7 separate regions of the Homo sapiens genome follow, and all the other regions are linked to region 1. Evidence: promoter capture Hi-C in human tissues and cell types (Jung and others, 2019). All regions are on one chromosome and are shown on one strand. The core of a region is centred on a gene start or on the middle of the fragment in contact, and the rest is flanking DNA. Distances in the headings are between cores, read along the strand shown. Region 1 holds the start of TGFB2 (transforming growth factor beta 2). Region 2 has its middle 120 kb from the start of LYPLAL1. Region 3 has its middle 89 kb from the start of LYPLAL1. Region 4 has its middle 99 kb from the start of LINC01710. Region 5 has its middle 82 kb from the start of LINC01710. Region 6 has its middle 59 kb from the start of LINC01710. Region 7 has its middle 43 kb from the start of LINC01710.

The links. Contacts are between HindIII fragments. The study calls those that stand out against the background at their distance.
Region 2: a contact is called between a fragment that was not itself captured here and the fragment with the promoter of TGFB2 in region 1, in 1 of the 25 tissues and cell types used here (lymphoblastoid cells).
Region 3: a fragment that was not itself captured here is called in contact with the fragment with the promoter of TGFB2 in region 1 in 1 of the 25 tissues and cell types used here (aorta).
Region 4: a fragment that was not itself captured here is called in contact with the fragment with the promoter of TGFB2 in region 1 in 2 of the 25 tissues and cell types used here (mesendoderm cells and thymus).
Region 5: a contact is called between a fragment that was not itself captured here and the fragment with the promoter of TGFB2 in region 1, in 1 of the 25 tissues and cell types used here (mesenchymal stem cells).
Region 6: a contact is called between a fragment that was not itself captured here and the fragment with the promoter of TGFB2 in region 1, in 2 of the 25 tissues and cell types used here (heart right ventricle and neural progenitor cells).
Region 7: a contact is called between a fragment that was not itself captured here and the fragment with the promoter of TGFB2 in region 1, in 2 of the 25 tissues and cell types used here (adrenal gland and mesendoderm cells).

The regions. Positions count from the first base shown.
Region 1 is chr1:218,343,964-218,346,648 of GRCh38, reverse strand. It overlaps TGFB2 (transforming growth factor beta 2), which reads right to left and starts at 1,313. Exons shown (of 7, transcript NM_003238.6): 1 at 1-1,313. TGFB2-AS1 (TGFB2 antisense RNA 1) reads left to right here and starts at 971. Exons shown (of 3, transcript NR_046268.1): 1 at 971-1,046; 2 at 1,261-1,474; 3 at 2,187-2,453. RefSeq lists an enhancer at 896-945 and a silencer at 1,326-1,385. The HindIII fragment of the contact is 13,667 bases long and covers 1-2,685 here.
Region 2 is chr1:219,288,288-219,290,972 of GRCh38, reverse strand. It overlaps a transcript of LYPLAL1 not described here. Among named protein-coding and RNA genes, the nearest start is that of LYPLAL1, 120 kb to the right of the region's middle. The HindIII fragment of the contact is 5,673 bases long and covers 1-2,685 here.
Region 3 is chr1:219,261,608-219,264,292 of GRCh38, reverse strand. It overlaps a transcript of LYPLAL1 not described here. Among named protein-coding and RNA genes, the nearest start is that of LYPLAL1, 89 kb to the right of the region's middle. The HindIII fragment of the contact is 4,009 bases long and covers 1-2,685 here.
Region 4 is chr1:219,016,332-219,019,016 of GRCh38, reverse strand. No RefSeq gene overlaps it. Among named protein-coding and RNA genes, the nearest start is that of LINC01710, 99 kb to the right of the region's middle. The HindIII fragment of the contact is 3,766 bases long and covers 1-2,685 here.
Region 5 is chr1:218,999,071-219,001,755 of GRCh38, reverse strand. No RefSeq gene overlaps it. Among named protein-coding and RNA genes, the nearest start is that of LINC01710, 82 kb to the right of the region's middle. The HindIII fragment of the contact is 4,618 bases long and covers 1-2,685 here.
Region 6 is chr1:218,976,455-218,979,139 of GRCh38, reverse strand. No RefSeq gene overlaps it. Among named protein-coding and RNA genes, the nearest start is that of LINC01710, 59 kb to the right of the region's middle. The HindIII fragment of the contact is 4,084 bases long and covers 1-2,685 here.
Region 7 is chr1:218,959,942-218,962,626 of GRCh38, reverse strand. No RefSeq gene overlaps it. Among named protein-coding and RNA genes, the nearest start is that of LINC01710, 43 kb to the right of the region's middle. The HindIII fragment of the contact is 4,652 bases long and covers 1-2,685 here.

The DNA of each region.
Region 1 (2,685 bases), core at 64-2,563:
AAATCAACAATTCTCAAAGTATAGATCAAGGAGAGTTGTTTGGTTTTTTGTTGTTGTTGTTTTTGATGCGAAACTTTTGCAAACAATCTAGTCAATGCCCAACAGAAAAACGTATCCTGCTTGAATTCCTTTAAAAAGAAAAGGCCAGTAGTTCCAAAAGTGGAAATATTAATACGGGACGGGCAGAGGGAACCCTGACTTTGGCGAGTAAGAAGAAAAAAATTCTTGGAGCAATGAGATGGGGAAAAAAAGAGACGAGTGGCTATTAAGTAGAAATAAATTTAAGAGGAGGAAGTGGAGTTCAGTGTGTCAGTCTCGGGTGCGGAGTGGCGGATCTGAACTCGGCTCCTCCGGCCAAAAGGGAAGAGATGAAAAGGTCCCGGGGCTGGCAGCTGGCGAACTGACGGGAGGGGCGCCGGGAGCGCGGTGAGGGGGGCCGCCGAGGCTGACCTGGGCTGAAATTTATATATTTAAAGAAGGAGCGGTTCGGTCCTGCCTTCCACTGCGGCGCTGAGAGCAGGAGCAGCAGCAGCTCCGGAGCAGAGAAGCGCACACGTGTGTGCGTGCGTGTGTGTGTGTGTGTGTGTGTGTGCGTGTGCGCGCGCTGGGGGCGAGCCCAGCGCACCGCGGGGAGGAGGGTGCGCTTCGCAGGGCGCTCGGTACTCGGTCGGGTGCCGCAGGGGCCGCAGAGGCTGCTGAGGCGGCGCGGATCCTGCTCTGGGAGCTGCGCTCCGTGGCCTACACCCTGGCGGGCGCGCGCTGACCCGCTTGGTTACTCCACGTTGCTGCCGCCGCCGCTTGCAAACGCTTCCAGCCTCCAGCTCCCTCCTTCTCCTGCTCCTCCTTCTCTTGCTCCAAACGCCAACCCAGCCACAGACGATCAGCCGTCGCGGTTGCGTTCACCCCCTGCGGATCACAACGGCAGCCCTTGCGACACCCTGGCTGGGGAGTTTTATTCCTGAGGGGGTTGCGCAGGGGCTCCCTTGGACTCCCACCCTTTCCCAACCTCTGCTGGCTTCTCCCCAACGTGGAATTGCTCGCTTAGGGTAGGTAGGCACTTGCCACCCTAAAATAGATCCTCTCTGTCTCCTCCTGTCTGCAGCCGGGCAGCCCCTCAGTTTGTTCCTGGATGACTCCCTAGACCGTCAGGCTAATATTCTCCATCCCCCTCCCCTGCCTCTTTCACTTGCGCTCTCGCTCTGCTGTCTCTTTCTCTCTTTCTCTTTCTATCTCTATCTCAATCTGTCTTTCTCTTGTCAGGAGCTTCTGGAGCTCCGCTCGGAGCGAACCTTCTGCTGCCAGCAGATAACATCACGATCTTGCCGGGGAGGGGAGATTTATAAGTTCTCTCTGAACCACGTGTCTGCCTTCAACAAAGTGACGTGCTAGGATTACAGTCAGAAGTCCTCTCGTTACTTAGACCACGAGCTCTCCCCGAACCGTTGAGGGAGTGTGGAAATGAGGACCGCTGTGGGTAAGGGAGGAAGGAGGTGGAATGTGCGCCCTGACAACAGTGATTTACGGTATTTACTTTCCAGTCATTTTGGACAGGTCTGTTGAAGGAAGGACAATCAAGTCTCCCGTTTTTACTTAGTGTAGCTCAGTCACAGCCTCCCAAGCTGAATCACTTGCTCTAGAAGGGAAGGCTTCCCTCCTGTATTATGTGTGCACACGCACCCCTATGGGAGGGAGCACTAGTCTACTCAGGGCCAGGCCAGTACTGAAGACATACCTTCCAATCTTTTAAATTCATGTCCTACCTCTTATTTTCTGGGATACCTTAGCAGGTTGCCATCCCAGAATTTATTTTGTTAGTTTGTTGTTTACAATGTACCCCTCTGTTTGTGAACTGCTGGAAAACAGAGATCCATCAATTTTACCTAAAGAATAAGGTATACTTGTTTGTTTTACTGATTTGAATGAATGGTCACCTTTATAATTTGCTGCCTAAGCCACTTCTTGTATGGCTTTCTTCTTCACCTTCTTGCTAGGCTAAACATTATCAACCAACTTCATTCTTTCCATAGCATTAATCCAGGAAGCTGGAATTTTAAGTGTTTGATGTCTACTGTTCTACACTACTCATAACTTGACATTTTCAATTTCAACTAAGTCTAAATTAGATGAATACAAGAATAACTCTTACCACTGTTCCACCTTCCCTTTTTCTTTTATTTTACCTTTAGTTACTCAAAGTCAACATTTTCATTTCGGCATGACTCTGCAGCCATACTGACCAGACAGATGATTTAAACTGGAAACTCTGTTGAATGTACTCCCAAACCCAAGATCTCTATACTGTTCTCTACTTCAGATGTTCCTGAGTTCAGAAAAGTCACAAAGAACTTTCTATCACTTTTGGAATTTATACTTCAGTTGTGTATGGGGCCTAGGTTATTAGTAGAGCACTGAATAAATAAAATAATAATAGCTAACATATACTACACTTAGTAATTTGATGTGTGTTGTGTATGGTCATTTAATCTTCACTATGAACCTATAAAGTGGGTCTTATTATCCATATCTGGCAGATGAGGAGACTGAGGTACAAAGAAGTTAAGTACTTTGTTCGAGACCACAGTAAGTGGTAGAGCTGGATTTTTGCAGTCAGGATCCACTATGTTCTTACCTACTATGTACTTCTGAGAAACAATGGTCCCAGAATATGTTCTGACAAACAGGAAT
Region 2 (2,685 bases), core at 54-2,553, 940 kb before region 1:
TAATAGTAGATATAGGATTTGATCTCAGGTTTTCCATGACCATAAACTGTGCTTACCTCCTACACCAGGCTGGTCTGTGAATAGAGTATATTCAACAAAACTTTGTGAATACCTGCCATGTGTAATGTGCATGTACAGAATATAAAGATAGTGCATTTGGGTATGGTCACAAGTTATGTTAGGGGTCCCAATCCAGACTGCAAGAGAGGGTTCTTGGATGTCGCTCAAGAAAGAATTTGGGGCGAGTCCACAGTGCAAAATGAAAGCGAGTTTATTAAGAAAGTAAAGTGGTGAAAGAATAGCTATTCCGCAGACAGAGAAGGGCATTCCCGAAAGTAAGAGGAGGAATGCTCCCACTCTAGGTACAATACTTGTTTATATATAGGATAACAACAACAACAACATATCATAGGGAGATGTGCTCTGCTATAAGGGTTTGTGATAAAGGGTTACTTTTCTTAATCACTGTATTTTGTAAAAATCAATATTATTATTTTTAAAGCAAAATTAGAAATGCTTCTCAAGATGTTGGAAGTCTGGGTCTGTTTAGTAAATGTTATCAATCTGTTCTTTTAAACCTAAACATGTAGAGGGGCTAGGAATAACTAACGTCCTGGGAATGCAGCCCAGAAAGTCTCAGCCTCATTTTTCCTAGCCCTCACTCAAGATGGAGTTCCTCTGGTTCGAATGCCTCTAACAGTGAGATGGAAGACATGGAAGCACACTAGCAGGAGAAACCAACTATGCCTAAGAATGACACAGCACAATAGAGCCACAATCATGTCCATTTATTTACTTATTTATTTGCAGCATGAAACCAAGACATCACACCTGAGCATTCTGATGGGTCTTAGCAAGAGCACCTAGGTGACCTGTTGTTTCTCCAAGGCTGACATTTCTCAGTCTCCTGGCATTAGAAAGGCAGAGCCAAACCTCCAGGATTTTGCTGCTTACCTGCAGCTCTCACTGAGCCCCAGGTTATCTGGATTTAGAGGATTGTGGATCAGTAGGATTGGCCATTAGACACTAATTCTCATTCAATTAAGGAAGGGATAACTAATGTGTTTCTCTGATGAAAAAGGTAGGGTGGCCAAGGGGCATTAATATCAGAGAGATCTGCTTGGATTTAAACCCAAATTTGGTCACTTAATTATGTCATCTTTGAAATATTTATTTAACTTTTCTGAACTGTGGTTTCTTAATTTATAAAATGAGGATGGCGCGAGCAATTGTGGGCATTAACTAAAACAATACGCTTGAAAGTGTTTGACAATACCAGCAGCTCATGAAAAAGAAAAACATCTAAAACAGAATGTGGGTGAAAAGACTGAGAGTAATTTTCTACTTGAAGCAGAGTCTTCACTGAAAACCATACTTCTTTCTGCATGCCCACACTCTACAGCCTATTGGCTTGTATTATAGATTTTTATGTGTGTGGTATATTATTTTCTCACAATAGCTCTCTTGCCGTGTTCTGTCTGCTATTAATCTGTAAGATCATTAGGCACAAGGATTGTGAATTCGATTTCTTTCATATTCTCTTCCCATAGTACCTAATAAAAACTCCCCACAGAGCCTCCATTCTGTGAGAAGAATATAAATATACAGCACTTCACAATTTACAAAATCATTTCACATGCATCCCCTCATTTGATCTCACTACAGCTCTCACGGGCTTCCTTGGTTCTCAGATCACGATGATTGGGAGGTGGACAGACTAAGTAATGATCAGGTTTCGGCATTAAGCATAGCATGTACTCTGATACTTATCAAATTTTTCTCTGCCGCCTCCTTTTTCTCTCTAACCTTGGGCCCTTAGAAATGTATCTCAGTTACACATCCTCGGGTCCTGTGCCTCCAAAGAAATTTCCAAAGGCAAAAAAAACAAAAAAAACAAAACAAGAGGTAACTTGTGCCAGCACATTTCTGCATGGCCTCCCTAGAAGGAAAGGAGCCTATGTTTATCATCCAGATGTATTAAGACGGTAACATTTCCTGACCAAATTCGAGCAAGACGATTTAAATGAGAGCGTGCCTAATGACATTTTATGACAAATGCAATATTTTAGAGGCATGAATTAATTTTAAAGCGTACTTCTACCACAATTCTCACAAGTTAAAGTACAATTTTAAAACATGTAAGACAAGTTTTTTAAGAGCAGTTTTAAGTTTATGGCAACATTGAGAAGAAGATACAGAGATTTCTTATATACTCTTGTCTCCACATATGGTCAGCCTTCCCCATTGTCAACATCTCCCACCAGAGTGGTGCATTTGTTACAGTCGATGAAACGACATTGGCACATCAATATCACCCAAAGTCCATAGTTTCCCTTAAGGTTCATGCTTAGTGTTGTATATCCTATGGGTTTAGGTAAATGTATAATAATATGTATTCATCAATATAGCATTATACAGAGTGTTTTCACTGCCCTGAAAATCTTCTGTGCTTCCGTGAAAATTTTCACTGCCCTGAAAATTTTCTGTAGATAAATTATCCCACGCCTCAAACCCTGGCAGTCACTGATCTTTTTCTTTTAACTGATTCCATAGTTTTACCTTTTCCAGAATGTCATATATTTGGAGTACATCATATGGCCTTTTCAGATTGGCTTCTTTCACTTAGTAAAATATGCACTTAAGTTTCCTTTGTGCTTTTCTATGGCCTGATAGCTCATTTCCTTT
Region 3 (2,685 bases), core at 131-2,630, 920 kb before region 1:
TTCCTCTGTCCACCCAATTGGTGGTCTGAAAATTTAATTTTTCTTTCTTTCTCTGATACCACTGCCAGTAGTAAATATTCAGCTGTTAGAACAGAGTGGACTCTTTGGTTAGTACTGTGTGATACAGACCTGAATATAGGATTACTCTAGAAAGACTTTGACACTGGAGATAGGTATAGCAGTGATTTTTTAAAAAATAAAAATTGGATTAGTTTATCAGGATTAAGGAGAGAAAATGGCAGATGGGAGACAGGACTAATGGGCAGCTCCCAGTTGGACAGACAGGACAGCATGTGAAGACTCACACTATGAACTTTTGCTCTGAGACCTGCCACAGGAACATGCCAGGAAGACTGAAAGAGTTCACAGATCCTGCGGAAGAAGTGGCTGGCCACTGCAAACTCCATGAGATAGCCAAAAAACTGTGAGTTCCCAAAGTATGAAAGGGGAAAATATGCCTCTGAACACACATCCCACTGCGGAATCTGAAAATCCAGGTCATGAGAAAAAGATTTAACCTTACGTAGAACTGAAACAAATTTAGGGAGCTGAGCAAAATATTAAAGCAGAAGAAGCAGCAGGAAGAGCCCTGTAGGCACTCCCAGGTCCCAGCTCAAGCCCAGGGAAGCCATCCCTGACTCTATCTCACAGGGGTCCTTGGAGAAGGTAGCCATCAGAAGTAGGGAGGGATCACAGGGTGAAAGAAGCTTCCCACTGAACTTCGTAATAATTTAGTTCAAGCATGAATTTTCTTGAGCAGAATCTAGGGGACAAACAGGAATTGCTAGAGATACCAGCACAGGAGCAGTGGCCATCAGTATCGGAAGGTGGAGAGGCATGAGACCTAAAAGCCATGCTTGCTTTCTCAGTGGCAGGCTTGTAACCTGGGGCAAGATCTGAGCCCTGCATGCAGGCTGCCTGGATATAAACTTGGCACTATTGGTGGGGCACAGCAGAAGTGAGACTGGCCTCACCAGCTGTGTGGGAGCTGGGTAACACCTATAACTGCTAGGTTTCCCCCACTTCCCTGGTGACATATACAATGAAGCAGAAGCAGCCATAATCCCCCTTGAAACATAACTCCATTGGCCTGATAACCACCTCCCCATACCCCACAGTGGACGTAGCAAGCCTGACCCAAGGAGAGTCTGACCTGCATGGTTTTCCTCTACCTGCCTGGTAGCCAAACACAAAACACATAAATTCTTGGGAGCTTTATGGCCCTGCCCATTACCTGAGAAACTTATCCTGTCCAACTTAGGGCAAGCTTATATCCCCCTTCTACTGCCACAGCTGGTGCTCTCTTGAAAGTGCCACCTCCTGGCTAGAGGCCAACCAACTCAAACCATTACAGCAATTCATGACAGAATAATCCTGCTCCAAGGAAAGACAAAACAACAGCTAATTCCTCTGCCTGCAACGTCCTGGCTAACCAGAGGTCCTGACTCTGTCCATGTGACAACTTCACTGCTAGAATAACTAGCATTTGAGAAAACCAAAACGCTAAACATAACTACAACCAAGGACTCTCACAGAGTCTACTTCCCTCCCCTGCCACCTCCACCAAAGCAGGTGCTGGTATCCACAGCTGGGAGACCTGAAGATGAATCACATCACAGGACTCTTTGCAGACATTTCCTAGTACCAGCTCAGAGCCTGGTAGCCCCACTGGGTGGCTAGACCCAGAAAAGCAATAATAATCGCAGCAGTTTGGATCTCAGGAAGCCCCATCCCTAGGGAAAGTGGGAGAGCACTACATCAAGGGATCACCCTATTGTACAAAAGAATCAGAACAGCAGCCCTTGAGTTCCAGACTTTTCCTCTGAAATAGTGTACCCAAATCAGAAGGAACCAGAAAAGTAATTCTGGTAATATGATGAAACAAGGTTTTATAACACCCCCAAAAGATTAATGGATCCAAACCAAGAAGAAATCTCTGAATTCTCAGATAAAGAATTCAGAAGGTTGATTATTAAACTACTCAAAGAGATAGCAGAGAAAGATGAAAACCAAATTAAATAAATGTAAAAAATAATACAGGATATAGATGAATTATTTCCAGAAAAATAGATATCATAAAGAAAAAACAATCACAACTTCTGGAAATGAAAGACACATTTAGAGAAATACAAATTACACCAGAAAGTTTGAACAATAGACTAGAACAAGTAGAAGAAAGAACTTCAAAGCTCAAAAACAAGGCTTTTGAATTAACCCAATCAGACAGAGTCAAATAAGAAAGAACAAAAAAATATAAACAAAGTCTCTGAGAAATTTGGGATTATGTTAAACGACTAAACCTAAGAATAATTAGTGTTCTTGAGAAAGAAGAGAAATCTAAAAGTTTGGAAAACTTATTCAAGGGAATAATCAAGCAAACATTCCCCGGCCTTGCCAAAGATCCAGACCTCCAAATACAAGGCGCTCAAAGAACACCTGGGAAATTCATTGCAAAAAGATCATCACCTAGGCACATAATCATCAGGTTACATAAGGCCAAGATGAAGTGAGGCAAAGGTATCAGTTAACCTGTAACGAAAAACCTATCAGATTAACAGCAGATTTCTCAGCAGAAGCCCTATAAGCCAGAAGGGATTGAGGATCTATCTTCAGTCTCCTCAAACAAAATAACTATCAGCCAAGATTTTTGTATCCAGCTAAACTAAGTTTCATAAACGAAGGAGA
Region 4 (2,685 bases), core at 106-2,605, 670 kb before region 1:
TTGAGCTTTTTATATAATTTTGTTTTCTCTCCTGTTTTAGCATATCAGTTATATTCATTGTTTACTTGTTTTAGTGCTTGCTTTATAATTTGTAAAAAAAAAACCCTAATCCAAGTCCACTTTTAAATAACAGTATACCATTCACAGTTAGTGTGAGTGCTTTATGTTAACCAGATACATTTAATGCCCCCATTCTTTGTATGATTCTTATTATTCATTTCATTTGTATGCAAACATGCATATATATGTATATGACATATACGTAAGCATACCTAATTGAATACATTGTTGCTATGACTCTTTTAAATAAGTTGTTATCTGTTAGAACAATTAAGAATAAAAAAAGCTTTTATTTTACCTTAACTTATTTCTTCTTTAATGCTTTCTTCATGTAGACCAAGTTTCTGACCTATAAGATTTTCCTTCTCGCTAAAGAATTTTGTTTTTAACATTTCTTGCAAAGCATGTCTACTGTCAAAAAATATTTTCATTTGGGTTTGTCTAAGAAAGACTTTATTTCTCTTTCACTTTTGAAGAATAATTTTACATGATATAGAACTATAGTTTGGCAGTTTTGCTCTCAACACTGTAAATAGTTCCCTCTACTCTCTTCTTGCTCACATGGTTTCTGAGGAAAGTCATGCAATTCTTATCTTTGTTTCTCTGTAGGTAAGGTGCTTTTTTTTCCCCTCTGATCTCCTTCAAAAATTTTTCTCACTTGTTTGGTTTTATATAGTTTAAAAATGATATGCCTAGGTGAGGGTGTGGGTGTGTTTGGCATTTATCCTCCTTGTTGTCCTGTGAGCATCCTGGGCTTGTGGTTTGGTGTCTGACATTACTTTGGAGGTTATTTTCAGTCATTATTGTTTCAAACATTTCTTCTGTTTCTTTCTCTGTTTCTTCTCTTCTGGTATTCTCATTATGCGTAAGTTACACATTCTGTAGTTGTCCCACTACAAAAGTCCTTAGATGTTCTGTTATTTTTTTTCCCTCAGCCTTTTTTCCTTTGCATTTCAGTTTGTATGTTTCTATTGACATATTCTCAGAAATTCTTTCCTCAGCCATGCCCAGTCATCTCAGGAGTCTACAAAAGGCATTCTTCATTTCTGAAACAGTGTTTTTCATCTATAGCAATTTTGGTTTCTTTCTAATTTTTCATCCCTCTGCTTACATTACCCATTTTGTTTCGCATGCCATCTACTTTATCAGTTAGAGCCTTTATCGTATTAGTCATAGTTGTTTTAATTCCCAATCTCATAATTCCAACATTTCTCCTATGTCTGTTTCTGATATTTTCTTTGTCTCTTCAAATTGTATTTTCCCTCTTGGGTATGGTCTTAATTTTTTGGTACAAACTGAGCATAATGTACTAGGTAAAGTGATCTGTGGTAAATTAGGCCTTTAGTAATGTGATGGTAAGCTTTGGGAGTAGGGGAAGCATTTTATAGTCTTACGATTAAGTCTTATTCTTTTGGTGAGCTGGTAAACTGATAATTACCAGTTCTTCTCATTTTCCCACCCCACCCACCTACCCCTTATGTGAGATAGGATAGCTAGTAGGGGCAGAAGTTGGGTAGTTTTATCCCTTTATGTGAAAGGCTGGTGTAAGCTGGACTTGGGTATTTTACATCCCCCAGATGGAAAGAAGGTGATACTGGGCTAAAGTTGAATATTTTCCTTCCTCCAAGTCAGTTATGCACTGATAAAAACATAGTAGGCTAGGCTCAGGTAAAATAATTTGTCTTGTGGTCAGGCCTTGTTAAAAAGAACAGAATACTCTGCCGTATCTCAAAATAGTTACTTTTCCCCTCCCCTTTTTGGAAGCATGATGGAATTTTTCTCTGGTATTTACAATGAAAACCTAGTAGTTTCTGGAGGTAAAGCTCTCAAAAATGTATTGGCCTCCCCATTACTAGGTCTTCCTGGAGATTGTAACCCCTAGAATTGTCCTCATGAAATCTCTATTTCTCAATTACAGTTCATATTTTCCTACTTCAGTCCTCATTCCTGTGAGGTTCCAGCTCTGGTCAGTTGTGATTCTCTGTAACTTCCTGTCTGTCTCACCAGTTTTGGGGGCAATTGTTGACCCTGTGACCTCATTTCTGTGAGGTGTAGATACCTCTTAGAAGAAGAGTTATTGATTTTGCAGTTTGTTCAGATTTTTACTTGTTAGAATGGAGTGACAGCTTCCAAGCTCCTTACATGCCAATCTGGAAACCACTCTCTGTCCTTTTATTTCAATGATTAAAATGATAATTTTCGTAATCTCTTATTGTTTTTTTCCAAGGTTTTGCTCAGTTATGCCTATGCTGTGTAATAAATGTTTACCTTTTTGAATAGAAATTATTCTTTAATTATTGTCTATGAGGATACTAATTAATTTGTCTCAAATTATTTGCTAGACATCTATAAAATCAATTTCATTTGAAGTGAAATATCTTTTAATTATTGATTTTGATACTTTTTAACTTTAAATTTTGTTCAATTCTTCATGTATTTTGGAATTTTTGTTTGCAGGTTTATTTTTTGTGGAAGATATCTTTTGATTTTCTTAATTTCTCTGTGTGTACTTTCTAACAACTTTTTGGTTACCTTCCTAGTTTGCAGTGCTGCAAGTCCAAACTAGGTAATATAAAAACACTCAGGACTATTACTTTATGATATTAAATATATTAAAAATTCAAT
Region 5 (2,685 bases), core at 130-2,629, 660 kb before region 1:
TACCAGAATGAAATGCAGAATGTGACAAAGCAATCCAACTCTATTGTAAATGTATAAGACAAACTTACTGAAGTGGGTAAGCAAAAAGGTGCTGACCTGAGTAATTTTGCAACTGAGTAGTGTGTGAGAATAAGAGCTAAAGAAACTCTACATAAAGCACTGTACTATAGTTGATGAAGTGGTTTCCTAGGGAAATACAAATGATGAGTTCTGATACTTTTATACATATACATTGTAATTGAACAATTAAGTAAATGGATAGAAGAGAGTAGGAGCCAGGCTTCTTGCTGTTGGAGTGCAACCTTAAAAATAAGCAACAGGATGAGGATATAATCATCCCTGTGGTAATGGATTACAGTTGGAGACAGCAGTATGAAATCATGATTAACTAATTACAGATACAGATGGTTACACATAGAAATATATATGGGTTGGGGCTAGGCGCGGTGGCTCATGCCTGTAATCCCAGCACTTTGGGAGGCTGAGGCACGTGGATCACGAGGTCAAGAGATCGAGACCATCCTGGCCAACATGGTGAAACCCCATCTCTACTAAAAATACAAAAATTAGCTGGACATTGTGGCCCGTGCCTGTAGTCCCAGCTACTCGGGAGGCTGAGGCAGGAGAATTGCTTGAACCCAGGAGGTGGAGGTTGCAGTGAGCTGAGATTGCACCACTGCACTCCAGCCTGGTGACAGAGCGGGACTCCACCTCAAAAAAAAGAAGAAATATATATGGGTTGCTATACACACGTTTCTCTTACTTTTTCAGCTAAGAGGACTTAGAAGAAATGACACCCCAGTAGAAATAAGCATACCATCTAGTACCCAGATTTTGTTTTTTAATAGCAATTTCCAGTAAAAAGGGAACAAGGTTTCTTGGTGAAATGACTGTTTACACTGGTGATTCATTTACATTGGTTATTCAAAGGACTGGGGCAGAAAAATGTGCAAGATAAGCCTGGAGCATTTTGTAGTGCCAGAAACAAAAAAGTGCTAAACAAAAGAAAATCCCACAATGATGGAGATATGTCAATGGAGCACAGAAGCCCACTGAAAGAGCTCCAATGGCCAGAGCTGGAACAATTGAAGCAATGAAATAAATGAAAGAGTATTGAATTATCAACAAAAGTATAAGATAACTATCTATGAGTCTATACTAATATAAATACATAATTGAAAAAATAAGGAATTGGGGAGATTAAACAAACCTGCCATGCAGAATAAGACCAAATAATTTATATAAAGTAGTTACTCTGACCTCAAGGAAGTGGAGCTTAACTCCCCACTCCTACAGTGTGGGCTGTACATAGATACTGTCTTCTAAATAGTCTAGTATGGAAAGGGGAAAAATATTAACTTCACAGTGAAAAAGGCAAACTTTACATCAGCCAGGTGGTCAAGATTAACATCAACAGTGACAATTCACATTAATAGTATATACACTTTATATGATGTAATGAAAAGAAATACTTTAGCTTTTTAATTGTTCCTGACAAATCTCATAGCGTCAGTCAAAGCATGAGAAAAACAATTTAAATCTTGATTGAAGGACATTCTTCAAATGCCTTCTCAAAACTGTCAAGGTCATCAAAAACAAGGAAAGTCTGAAGCACTCTAGAAGCCTAAGGAGACATAATAACTAAATGTAATGTGGCATCCTATATGGGATGTTGGAAAAGAAGGAAGAATACTAAAATTAAAGAAATTTAAAAATGAAAGAAAGCTGAATAAAGCATGGACTTTAGTTAGTAAAAATGTATTAATATTGCTTTATTAATTGTAATAAATCTGCCATTCTGACATAAGATGTTAATAATTAGGGGAACGGCATGTGGAGTACATTGAACCCTCTGTCCTATCTTCACAATGCTTCTGTAAGTTCCAATCTATTATAAAATAAAAAGTTTATATAAAAGTGAAAATAAATTATAAGAGGATCTCGGTATCTGGAGTAAACTGATTTTTAAAAATAAAAATTTGAATACATGTATATTATGTTAATCTGTCAGGAGTTATATACACGTATCATTTTGGGAATTTCAGGGGATATGAAATCCAACGATAATATTACTTTTACTGAGCACAATACTAGAACTCTGCAGGCATTATCTTACATATCAAAAAAGGCTGCAATGCAAATGCTCTTATGCTAAACAAACTGAAGTTAATTTTTTTGGTTCTAATTTCAAAGTTAGTGGGAATATACTCACTTCTGGTTTCCTTTATCATGCACCATTTCCAGTTTTGGTTTCTTTTATCCTTGTTTTTCTCCACATAGTAATCACCTTACAGATTATATTATGCATCTGAGAAATATGTAAAGCCTCTATAGTTTCTAAGATCAACAGTAATATAATTCAACTCAATTAGAATTATTGTTCACTACAAATAAAATGTGCTTCCCTTCTTTAAAAAAAATCTAATTTTCTTTCTCTTTCGCTATCCAGTTATATATATTTTATATATATATATAAAACAATACACCTTGTCATCAGTGGTTTGCAATAATGCCTTTCTTGATTGCATAAGTGATCAATGTATTGTTTTTTTCTGTTACAATGGTCTGTGTATTTATGTACTGATACTGCATTATTTTAACTATAAAGCTTTTGTGATATGCTTTAATATCTGGCTAAGTATTCTTCATTTCATTTCTTGCTTTTATTTTTCTGGGATTTCCTAG
Region 6 (2,685 bases), core at 85-2,584, 630 kb before region 1:
CTGAGGTCAGGAGTTAGAGACCAGCCTGACCAACATGGAGAAACCTCATCTCTACTAAAAATACAAAATTAGCCGGACGTGGTGGCGCATGTCTGTAATCTCAGCTACTCGAGAGGCTAAGGCAGGAGAATCGCTTGAACCCGGGAGGCAGAGGTTGTGGTGAGCCAAGATCGTGCCATTGCACTCCAGCCTGGGCAACAAGAGTGAAACTCTGTCTGAAAAAAAAAAAGAAATACTGATTTATATTGTACATCACATGTAGAGGAGAGAATTGTGAATTTACTTTGATGACTTTGTTAGCGTCCAACATATATACAAAAAACGTAGCTCAAGCTAGATGACGTGCAAATTTAACTACAAGGTTGTTCATTGCAGTGCATTTTATGACAATAATGATTAAAAACATTTAAAAAATAGAAAATTTAAATGTTTATTATTACAGAATTAAATAAATGATAAACATTACACAGTTGAATACATTTTACACTTCAAAATGATACTATAGATACATTTTTGTTGACTTGGAAAAATGTTCAGTATATATTGCTAAGTGAAAAGACAAAATGTATAGGCAATATAATCCTATTTGGTGAAAATATGTATGTTTGTGTGTGTGATGTGTAGTGAAAATTTATGCATGAGAAAAGGCATAGATATACCATGGGATTTAGAGTCATCCTCTCTGGGCTGTGGGATTATGGGACGTATCTTCTTTTTTGATGCACCTGTGTTTTCGAACTTTTCCACATTGATCAGAAATTGATTTTGCCATTAAAAAGAATTAAATTTTAAAATGTAGTTTAAACGTTCCAAAGAAATATTCAAAATAACCATATCGGTTTGGAAAGAAGCATCAAGGAGAACTTTCAACAGATTACACATGAAAGATTGAAGAGTGGGTGAGGCAAAAGATGGTTCATAGATTGTGATAATCCTTTGAGAAATATGAAATAACATCAGAAATAGTCATTGGAAATAACAGGATGGGGCATCACAAAACCACCCCTGGGAATAACTCACTTAAACACTGAAATGTGGATAGTTTCTCACAGTTCTAGGATGTAATTGTACTCTTTTATCTTTCCTAAATGAAAATAACAGATACCACTGGAGTCAGGTTGTACTTTTCTACCAAGAAACTAAAATTAAAGAGTAAAACTTTAATCATGATTTCCTGATGATTCATGGTTATAAAAAGAAAAATTATAATCATTTATGTACCTCATCATTTTGAGAAATTAAATGACATGCATAACTCCAAAAAACTAAAACTTGAAAGGATTATACATTTCCTCCCCAATTATTTCTGTAGAAAATTTAGAAAGTATAGAACATTTCAAAATATAAGCCAAAATATTTGCATTTTCCCCACCCAGGGAAATGACTATTAACATTTTAATGCATGCATTTGGTCTTTCTCATCATTATATATATTTTAAAACTATTTGGATGTAGTAAACATACCATTTTATAAACTATTTATGTAAAATATGCTCAGGGCACTTTTCTTCATGAAAAAATCTTAGCAAACAAAAATATTAACTACTTCTAGTAATCTTTTATTAAATAGTTTTCAGGTTGTTGTAGAGTATTCTAATTTTTATTTTTCTATTACAAACAATACTGAGAGAAACATAACCCTTTGAGCTTCTCTTTAATTATTACTTTTTAGAATATAGTCCAGAATTAGGGTAAATGGGTTAAGATGTAGACAGTTTAAAACTACTTTAAATGGCAGGAAGGTCATTTTTAAAGAGAAGAATTGGCTTGAGATCATGGAAGTAAAAACATCCAACACATCAGGTTAATCTTCATATTACATTATAAATATTTACAGTTTCCTCTTCTTAACAAGAAGTGGGAGTAGTTTTATCCTTGTTTGTTTCTTTATTTTCAATGCTGAGAAAGAGAAAATGTGTTCCTCCATTCCCTAATCCTGATTCTGGCCCCACCTGTGGGATGGTTTTAATGAGAAGCCCTACTATGGAAACATACCTTGTATGCCACATGCATTCCAAAAGACTGGATTCTGGCCTTTCTAGCCCGTGTCTACACCACAGGGTTCAGATGAAGAGTTGGGTAATGAATGTGGGTTCTACCTGACAGCTACACCCAAAATCCACCCTGACTATTTTATTTCTATCTGTGTTTGTGGTGCTTTCCCCACAGACCTTGAGTTCCATGGGGGCTGGGTCTGTCTTTCTCATTTACTGTTGTATCCTCTACACAGAAATACTGACGAACCAGCAGAGTAGAAGAGTGTCTGCTTTCCCATAATCTTCCATCACAGGGAATTCATTTCAGTTTTTAACCTTCACCAATTTGATGGCCAAGAATGGAACTTACTGTGTGATACTGGTACAGTTGAATTTAAACTCTTATGTTTATTTTCCTTTTGTAATTTGCCTCTTTGTATTCTTTGCCTATTTTTCAATTAAAGAATTCTTCTTTTTCCTGTTGATGTAAAAGAACTTTTTTTATGTATCAGATAGTAACTCTCTGTCTACCATGTACGTTGCAAATATTGCATCCTGGTTTCTTATTTATAGTGTTTTTAATATACTAATAATTTTAATTTTTTTCTCAAATATATGAATGTTTTCCTCAATGGTTTTTGCTTTTTACTTAGAAAGCCTTTCTCTAATGCTTGTCAAATTTTTTGTGGCTTTATTTTTAAAAATTTCA
Region 7 (2,685 bases), core at 51-2,550, 620 kb before region 1:
GAAAGACGTCTAAGCCAATACATATGGTAAATTACTATAATTGCCCTGTTGAACCATGGTAGAGCGAATGCTCAATACTAGTGGGCCACGTAATTTTGGTAGTCAGTGTTTTTTTTATCTCTAATAGCCAATATTTTCTCTAGACTTGCCATATCAGAAGTTGGCATCAACTAGATGTGACCTCCCTTTTCTTATGTGTTTACCTATGTTTACAAAATCTGCACTATGAACATCAGTGGTTTGTCTATGTCAAATTTAATTCATCGCATAAATTCAGACTTTGCCAGTTCAAAAATTGTGATGCACCAGATACTTGCTATCATAATTACTCTGGAGATTAAATTAGATCAATCTTGGTCCTCATACACTAAAGTTTAGTTATTAAGGGACAAAACTGGTCTTAACAGATATGTTTTTAGCAGCATGGAACTCTCATAATCTGGAGCCCAGAGATGGCTTTGTTATGTGAATGCCAGTATAAATTAGACATAGGATATATTGATGCAAGCAAGAATTAATATTTTAAACAAACAAAAATCAGCAAGTGTGATGACAATTCTTAAATATAAGCTATTCTGAAGATACAAACTCTTCTGGAAAAAGTAAAACAAGATTAAGATTGCTTTTATGGCATTTGATATGCAGCTGTACAAAGATCTCCCTGATCATATCTGGATGAGATACTCCTTCTAAGAGCTATTATGGCACCACATGTATACCTTAGACTAATACCACATGACACTGAAATTCCCTGCTTCAATGTCTGTGTTTCCAGCTAGAGTACAAACAATGAGGGACCAGTGATACCTGGTTCTGGCTGTGTGCATAGTAGACACTCAATAATTTTTTCATTTTGAATTGATTCCCAGGCACAAGTTCCAGCCAAATGTTTAATTATCATTCCATCAACGTATATGGCAATTTCCTTAATCATGATAAAGAAAGGGATAAATTGGACTCCAAGGTTATTTTGATAAGGGGTGGTACTACATCAAAAAGTCCTGCTAGGGCATAACATTAAAAGGAGTTTTAGTATGATGAAGTCTATGTTTTTTTTTTTTTAAACAGATATTGCTTAATCTTCATGCTTGTCAATTTGTAACTCAAATGGCCTCAGGAGTTCATGCTAAAATTGAGACATCAAGGAATAAATCTGAGATGTTTGCCACATTTGAGGCAAAGTGAATGTACCAAGCATTGACAGGGAGGAAATGCCGTCTCTGGTCACCTGGTAGACTACTGACCTCTCAAGATATGTCCAAGGATAAAAATCAAAAGAGTTTCCAACAGGGCTCTGTTTAGTGGTCACATTCTTGAATACTTCATCTTGTCACAATTTTTATCCACATTATATCTAGAAAGTGATCTCAGAAGTTTTCTTTTTTTTTGTTTGTTTTTCTTTCTGCAAAATGGCAGACTATTTTTGCTCAACTTGGAGTGGCACAACTTAGTTTTCTTCCTTAAACTTTTTGATAGGCTTTTAAAAAAGTTTCCTTTGTAATGGCCTTATCTTCCTTCAAGTAAAGTCGATGGATAAAGGAAGAATAATTTCTACATTTATTTATGAAGAAAGAACTGATTGAATACATACTAGTTATGAGAGAGCAGAAAGAATTTCCATAGTAAAAAAGAATCAAATCAATAAAGCAGGAATCTTTTATAAGAGGCTCACAATATAATCAAGATGATATACAGGCAAACATTATATTGCAATATTATTTGTAATAACAAATAATTGTGGTTATTCTAAGTAGCTATATTGCAATTCATTTAGTCAATAAATATTTATTCAGCATCTACTTTGCTAGACATGAGGCTAGGCACCAGGAATGTAATAGTGAACAAGACTCAGCTTACTACCCTCATGGAGCTTGCATTCAAGTGGGGAAACAGACAATAAATGAATGAATACATTAAATAATAAAATATCTACAATAATAAAGAAGGTGATTTGCTCTAAAAAGGAAAGAAGAGGGAGCTGTGATAGAAAATGGCCATGTTTACCATCACAGAGAGTTTACCATTACAGACGTGTGATCATGAAGACCCCTCTAACTGCGTAACACTCAAACTAATACCTGAAGAAGAGATGTCAGTCATGCAAAAGTGTTAGGGAGAGGATGCCACTGGAGGAAATAATTGCTAATGCTGAGGGTTACAGGTGTAATTCCATTCAAATGTCACATCCTAGGGACATAGATGGAGCTGGAGGCCATTATCCTAGCAAACTAACGCAGAAACAGAAAAGCAAATACCACATGTTCTCACTTCTAAGTGGGAACTAAATGATGAGAACACATGGACCCATAGAGGGGAACAACACACATAGCAGCCTATCGGAAAGTGGAGGGGGAGGAGGGAGAGGATCATGGAAAAAAAACTAATTGACACTATGCTTAATACCTGGGTGATAAGATAATCTGTACAACAACCCCCCATGACACAAGTTTACCTATGTCACAAACCTGAACTTGTACCCCTGAACTTAAAATATAAGTTAAAAAAAAAAAAAACTCGCCTGAAACCCTCCAGGCAAAGCAGCAGAATGAGTGCTCCTTTCCTGGTACTTGATTACATCATAAATCATGCTGCTTTGAGCCATTCCACATTATGTTGAATTATTTGTGTAGCAGCCTGATTTATCACTAGGCTGAGTTTTCATTCACCATTGTTTTACTGTACCTA